Regions from separate parts of the Homo sapiens genome. Here region 2 is linked to region 1. The links are contacts of gene promoters, found by promoter capture Hi-C in human tissues and cell types (Jung and others, 2019). All regions are on one chromosome and are shown on one strand. Each heading gives the region's core, a stretch centred on a gene start or on the middle of the fragment in contact. The rest is flanking DNA. Distances are from core to core; before and after follow the strand shown.

Region 1 (3,832 bases), core at 591-3,090:
AAACTCTGCCTCCCGAGTTCAAGCAATTCTCCTGCCTCAGCCTCCCGAGTAGCTAGGATTACAGGCACCCACTACCACGCCCGGCTAATTTTTTGTATTTTCAGGCACCCGAGTAGCTGAGACTACAGGCGCATGCCACCATGCCAGCTAATTTTTTGTATTTTAGTAGAGACGGGGTTTCACTGTGTTGCCCAGGCTGGTCTTGAACTCTTGAGCTCAGTCAATCCGCCCACCTCGGCCTCCCAAAGTGCTGGGATTACAGGCGTGAGCTGCCGCGCCCAGCTTAATTTTTGCTTTTTTAGTAGAGACAGGATTTCAGCATGTTGGCCAGGCTGGTCTCGAACTCCTTACCTCAAGTGATCCACCTGCCTCGGCCTCCCAAAGTGCTGGGATTACAGGCTGAGCCACCACGCCTGGCCTCATCCCTTCTTAAAACGAGTTTTCCATTTGCAAACTGCTGGTTTCTTGGGGGCATTGTCCCCATGAGCTTTTCATAAAAATATCAATGATGTCACCATAAATGTGATGATTATTCTTGCTTCAAATTTAGCAGAATCCTTGTTGCTCTGACAGGAGCTCTTTTCAAACTGATGTCTTATCCTTCTTAGTGCCTCAAACTAGATCTTGTCGAGACATGTGATAACAAGTTAGTACAAATTTATTTTGGTGCCAAAAAATTTTCAAATCCATGCATAGTTTTTTTCATAGTATGAATTTTCCATGAACCTTTTGAAGACCGCTTGTATAGAAAAAAACAGTATATATAGGGTTTGGTGCTATCCAAAGTTTCAGGCATTCACTGGGAGGTCTTGGAACTATCCCAGTGGATAAGGGAGGACTACTATGCTAAAAACTATCCCTTGTTTAACTGAAATTCAAATTAAACTGAGTGGCCTGCATTTTATCTGCCAACCCTACCCTGGGGGCACTTAAAAATACCAGAGGCCAGGCGGGGCGCGGTGGCTCACGCCTGTAACCCCAGCACTTTGGGAGGCCGAGGCGGGCAGATCACGAGGTCAGGAGATCGAGACCATCCTGGCCAACATGGTGAAACCCCGTCTCTACTAAAAATACAAAAATTAGCCGGGCGTGGTGGGGTGGGTGCCTGTAGTCCCAGCTACTCACGAGGCTGAGGCAGGAGAATCGCTTGAACCTGGGAGGCGGAGATTGCAGTGAGCCGAGATCGGGCCACTGCACTCCAGCCTGGCGACAGAGCAAGACTCCGTCTCAAAAAAAAAAAAAAAAAGAAGAATTGCTTATCCACGCCCTGTTTCTTTTCTCTTAGCGTTACTCAGTGGGGGAGTCCTCCCAAGTATGATGGAGAGTCCTTTCGAAACCCTGCTGGATTGTCAGGACAACCAACTGGGCTACTTTTCCACAGGTCGCCCCAATTCCTTTGGATTCTGATTTCTCTGAGGTCCCAGGATCCAGACAGGCTTGGCCAATCCTTCCCCGCCCAAACTGTAACTCTCAAAACCAACACCCCGGCATAGGGCTGGAGGGGAAAATGGGTGAGGTCAGAGACAAAGAAGAGGGAAGGGTCAGGCGGGGCTCCGGGTTCCCTGCCACAAGCCTCCGCTGGTGTTCTGCTTTTCTCCCGAGAGCTCCCGCCCACCCTGCAACCCTCGCCTGGCCCCGCTGCCGTTCTCAGCTCCCTCCCAGTGCCTGGTGGAGGCCGGGGCTGTGTCCCGAAGGGGGTCGGGGCAGCAGAACCTCAGCCACAGCCAATCACAGCGGGGTCCTTCGGGGAGGGGCGTGGCCTGACAACTTCGGCGACGCGGCTGGACCAATCCGGACGGAGGAGAGCGAAGCTCCTCTGCACTGGGCCCAGGTGCGCTCCTCAGCGTCTCCGGGTGGCGGGGCGCGCGGGATGGAGGAGTCTTGGGAGGCTGCGCCCGGAGGCCAAGCCGGGGCAGAGCTCCCAATGGAGCCCGTGGGAAGCCTGGTCCCCACGCTGGAGCAGCCGCAGGTGCCCGCGAAGGTGCGACAACCTGAAGGTCCCGAAAGCAGCCCAAGTCCGGCCGGGGCCGTGGAGAAGGCGGCGGGCGCAGGCCTGGAGCCCTCGAGCAAGAAAAAGCCGCCTTCGCCTCGCCCCGGGTCCCCGCGCGTGCCGCCGCTCAGCCTGGGCTACGGGGTCTGCCCCGAGCCGCCGTCACCGGGCCCTGCCTTGGTCAAGCTGCCCCGGAATGGCGAGGCGCCCGGGGCTGAGCCTGCGCCCAGCGCCTGGGCGCCCATGGAGCTGCAGGTAGATGTGCGCGTGAAGCCCGTGGGCGCGGCCGGTGGCAGCAGCACGCCATCGCCCAGGCCCTCCACGCGCTTCCTCAAGGTGCCGGTGCCCGAGTCCCCTGCCTTCTCCCGCCACGCGGACCCGGCGCACCAGCTCCTGCTGCGCGCACCATCCCAGGGCGGCACGTGGGGCCGCCGCTCGCCGCTGGCTGCAGCCCGGACGGAGAGCGGCTGCGACGCAGAGGGCCGGGCCAGCCCCGCGGAAGGAAGCGCCGGCTCCCCGGGCTCCCCCACGTGCTGCCGCTGCAAGGAGCTGGGGCTGGAGAAGGAGGATGCGGCGCTGTTGCCCCGCGCGGGGTTGGACGGCGACGAGAAGCTGCCCCGGGCCGTAACGCTTACGGGTGAGTGCTCACCTGCGCCGGCAGCCGACGCCGCCAGGTCGGGTGGACGTAGCCGAAACCCCCACACCCGCCCAGCCCTGGACCGCTGGGCAGCTGACCGACTAAGGGACCCAGTTGGCCATCCCGATCCCCAACCCGATCTGGCCTCTCGGGCTTACAATCAATAACATTCCTGTCTACGTAACTGTAATTCACATTGTTGCCGTGTCTCACGCCTGTAATCCCAGCACTTTGGGAAGCCGAGGCGGGCGGATCACCTGAGGTCAGGAGTTCGAGACCAGCCTGACCAATATGATGAAACCCCGTCTCTACTAAAAATACAAAAATTAGCCTGGCATGGTGGCATTCACCTGTAATCCCAGCTACTCAGGAGGCTGAGACAGGAGAGTCGCTTGAACCCGAGAAGCGGAGGTTGCAGTGGGCCGAGATCATGCCATTGTACTCCAGCCTGGGCAACAAGAGAGAAACTCCGTCTCAAAAAAAAAAGAGTAAAGCCACTCCCCTTCTCATCCTCCCCTACCCGCACTCCCGAACTTTCAAATTCCCTCTTAGCATGCGCAGCACCTTTGAGAAGTAGCAGTGGAAGGAACTCCAGATGAGGGGAAGTCATTCAGGATCAGGTGGCAGGGGTGGCAGCCCAGATCCCCCCATCCCTGCACTGCCAAGGACTTTCTGGAAGGTCCAGGCTGCTGCTTTCTTTCCACCACACTGAGGAACATTTAGCCCCAAACACTCATCCATTCAGTAGATAGTGAGTGGGACCACAGGGTAGATGTGCCAGTAGTATGTGCGGCTGGTTATTTTGTGGTGTGGGGGAGGGGGAGCTTGACACAGAAGAAAGAGCCCACAAAAGATACAGACTGTCCTGGATAAGGAGACTGGAGGGAGTAGTTGGTGAATTTGGGGCAAGAGATAGCCAATTTTTTTCTTTTTTTCTTTTTTCTTTCTTTTTTTTTTAAGAAATAAGTTTTGCGCTTGTCACCCAGGCTGGAGTGCAATGGCACAATCTCGGCTCACTGCAACCTTCGCCTCCTGGATTCAAGCGATTCTCCTGCCTCAGCCTCCTCCCGAGTAGCTGGGATTACAGGCGCCGGCCACCATGCCTGGCTAGTTTTTGTATTTTTGGTAGACAGGGGGTTTCATCATGTTGGCCAGGCTGGTCTGGAACTCCTGACCTCAGGTGATCCAGCCGCCTCAGCCTCCCA
Region 2 (3,832 bases), core at 773-3,272, 1.1 Mb before region 1:
TTCCAGGATTCTAGGAATGTTACAGAGGTAGAACGATCAACAGTTGTCCTTTTGTGACTGGCTTCGATTCACTTAGCATAATATTTTCAGGGTTCACTCATGTCGTAGCATGTATCTGTACTTCATTCCTTTTGTGGCTGAATAATATTCCACTGTATGTATGTACAACATTTTATTTATCCATTTATCCATTGATTGATTATTTATCCATTTATCCATTGATGGACATTTGGGTTGTTTCCACGTTGTGGCCATTGTGAATTATTCTGCTAGGAACATAGGTGTCCAAATAAATATCTATTCAAGTCCCTGCTTCAATTCTTTTGGGTATACACCCACAAATAGAGTTGCTGGATCATATGGTCATTCTATTTAGTTTTTTGAGGAACTGCCATACTGTCTTTTTAATTTTAATAATAAATTTTATTTAACACAATATGTACAAAATATTATTTTATTTCAGCATATAGTTAACATGAAAAAAATCATTGATATATTTTATGTTATTAATTGTCTATTTCGAGGGCCGGGCATGGCGGCTTACACCTGTAATCCTAGCACTTTGGGAGGCCGAGGTGGTTGGATCGCCTGAGGTCAGGAGTTCCAGCCTGGCCAACATGGCAAAATTCCGTCTCTACTAAAAATACAAGAATTAGCTGGGTGTGGTGGCACATGCCTGTAATCCCAGCTACTTGGGAGGCTGAGGCATGAGAATTGCTTGCTAGGAGGCAGAGGTTGCAGTGAGCCAAGATTGCGCCATTGCACTCCAGCCTGGGCGACAGAGCAAGACTCATTCTGGAAAAAAAAAATGTGTATTTTGAAATTCCATTGGTATTTTACACTTTTTTTTTTTAGATGGTTTTGCTCTTGTCACCCAGGCTGGAGTGCAATGGCGCGATCTCAGCCCACCACAACCTCTGCCTACTGGATTCAAGCAATTCTTCTGCTTCAGCCTCCCATGTATCTGGGAATATATCTGGGAATATAGCCTGCCACCACGCCTGGCTAATTTTGTAGTTTTAGTAGAGATGGGGTTTCACCGTGTTGGCAGGCTGGTCTCAAACTCCTGACCTCAAGTGATCCGCCAGCCTTGGCCTCCCAAAATGTTGGGATTACAGGTGGGAGCCACCATGCCCGGCTGGTATTTTACATTTAACAATACATCTGGGCCAGCACAGTGGCTCATGCCTGTAATCCCAACACTGGGAAGCCGAGGTGGGTGGATCACCTGAGGTCGGGAGTTCGAGACCAGCCTAACCAACATGGAGAAACCCCGTCTCTACTAAAACTACAAAATTAGCCAGGCGTGGTGGTGCATGCCTGTAATCCCAGCTACTCGGGAGGCTGAGGCAGGAGAATTGCTTGAACCCAGGAGGCAGAGGTTGCAGTGAGCCGAGATCATGCCACTGCACCCCAGCCTGGGCAACAAGAGCGAAACTCTGTCTCAAAAAAAAATAAAAAATAAAGTAAAAAAACCTCTGAATTCAGACTAGCCATATTTCAAGGGCTCAATAGCTACATGTGATACTTTTATAAATGGCAGTTTTTAAAAATAGAGACTGGGTCTCACTATGTTGCCCAGGCTGGAGTGTGGTGGCATGATCATAGCTCATTGCAGCCTCAAATTCCTGGGCTCAAGCAATTCTCCTGCCTCAGCCTTCCAAGTAGCTGGGATTACAGGTGTGTGCCATCTCACCCAGCTTCATAAACGGCATTTTAATTTAGACTCTTCAATTTACAATTAGATTGTGGAGAGTTTGGAATTTTTTTTTTTTTTTTTAGTTTTTTAGTAGTAGCTTTATTAAGATATAATTCACATACCATGCAATTCATTCATTTAAAGTACACAATTTGCTGAGCACAGTGGCAAGCGCCTGTAGTCTCAGCTACTCAGGAGGCTGACATAGGAGGACACTTGAGCCCAGAAGTTGAAGGCAAGCCTGGGCGACCTAGCAAGACTCCCATCTCTAAAATAATAAAAAATAAAAAATATATACAGTTCAGTGGCTTTCAGCATATTCACAGAGTTATACAACCATCACCACAATTTTAGAGCATTTTCATCACCCCAACAAAACACCCTATACCTATTAGCCGCCACTCCCTAACTCTAAGCAACCTCCAATCCACTTTCTGTCTCTCTGGATTTTTCTATTCTGGACATTTCATCTAAGTGGAATCATACATTAGATGGCCTTTTATGACTAGCTTCTTTCATTTAGCATAATGTTTTCAAGAGTCATCCAAGTTATAGCATGTATCAGCACTTTGATGGCCAAATAATATTCCATTATATGGATATAGTGCATTTTGTTTATCACTTCATCAGTTAATGGACATTTAAGTTTCTTCTGTGTTGTGGCTATTATGAATAATGCCGCTACAGACAATCATGTACAAATTTTTATGTGAACATATATGTTTTCACTTCTTTTGGGTAGGTACCTAGGAGTGCTATGTGCTGGGTCATATGGTAACTCTATGTTTAACCTTTTGAGGAACTACCAGACTGTTCTCCAGAGTAGCTTCACTATTTTACATTCCTACCAGCAGTGTATGAGATTTCTAATTTCTCCATGTCCTTGTCAACACTTGTTCTTATCCATCTTTTTATTAGAGTCATCCTAACGGGTGTGAAGTGGTATCTCATGGTGCTTTTGATTTGTATTTTCATGATGGCTATCCCCTCCCATGACATTTTCATTTCATAAATAAACTGTATATCTGTTTATGTACTGTGACCTCTTAGAGGGCTACAAACCACTGTAATATCTAAGTTTTTTCATTCCTCCCAAAAACCAGTTCTTACCCCCTTGGGGTTATATTACCTTCATTGAGAATGCATGTATTAGTACAACCTGTCACATGGCCAAACCCTAGGTCAAAGGGGCAAGGAAGTGGACTTCACTCCTGAGTAGGAGCTGCAACATTGCATGGCAAAGGGTGTGGACACACAGAGGAGAGAAGAATTGGGGACAATCATGTGTAGGGTCAAAGGGCCTGTTTTGGCCTCATGGGGAAAGCAGGGCTTCCCCATAATTCTTGAGTCACCATGGCAGGCCCACTTCACCTAGAACTGAGCTCCACCTTGGTGCTTTGGCTTCGGAATAGCTAAGCTGCTTTTCTGACCCTTGCAGATCTTGGATGAGGTGGAAAAAAGACGAGGCATCTCTCCTGCCCTGGTTCAGCCACTCATGAGAAGTGTCATGGAAGCCCCTTTCCCAGCCCTGGGCAAAACCATCCTTGTCAAGAACTTCCTGCCAGGTTCAGGAACTGAGGTGAGTTGTCAGACTCCTTCCTTCTCCCTGGGGAGGCAGTGGCCCAGACAGCCGAGTCTCCGTGCTCAGAGGGGCTGCCTTTCAGTGAGCAGTCCAATTCCTTGGTGTCTTCTCCCCACCCCTAGAGCTGGCCCAGATCACTCATCATGAGTTCCACCCTCAATCCATCCAGCCTAGGACTCTGCCCAATGCGGCAAGCCCAAGAACTATGCTATGGCAGCTGGGGTGTTCCTTTGCATGATGTTGGCCTCAGGTTAGGGATCTGCACTGAACATCCTTAATTTCTTTTAATAGCCCGTTTTCTTTCATACATTTTATTGAAACCTATTTACATTTCAAGTCTGTATCACCTCTATAACTTTATTTTTTGTTTTTGTTTTTGAGACAAAGTCTTGCACTGTCGCCCAGGCTGGAGTGCAGTGGTGTGATCTCGGCTCACTGCAACCTCTGCCTCCCAGGTTCAAGCTATTCTGTTGCCTCAGCCTCCCAAGTAGCTGAGACTACAGGTGCCTGCTGCCACACCCGGCTAATTTTTGTATTTTTAGTACAGACGG

Evidence for each region. Contacts are between HindIII fragments. The study calls those that stand out against the background at their distance.
Region 2: a contact is called between a fragment that was not itself captured here and the fragment with the promoter of KLRG2 in region 1, in 1 of the 25 tissues and cell types used here (hippocampus).

What each region holds. Positions count from the first base shown.
Region 1 is chr7:139,481,681-139,485,512 of GRCh38, reverse strand. It overlaps KLRG2 (killer cell lectin like receptor G2), which reads left to right and starts at 1,840. Exons shown (of 5, transcript NM_198508.4): 1 at 1,840-2,627. The coding sequence starts at 1,871. RefSeq lists silencers at 1,671-1,730, 2,191-2,470 and an enhancer at 2,601-2,680. The HindIII fragment of the contact is 6,160 bases long and covers 1-3,832 here.
Region 2 is chr7:140,546,245-140,550,076 of GRCh38, reverse strand. It overlaps DENND2A (DENN domain containing 2A), which reads left to right. Exons shown (of 20, transcript NM_015689.5): 13 at 3,138-3,278. Among named protein-coding and RNA genes, the nearest start is that of MKRN1, 69 kb to the right of the region's middle. The HindIII fragment of the contact is 6,920 bases long and covers 1-3,832 here.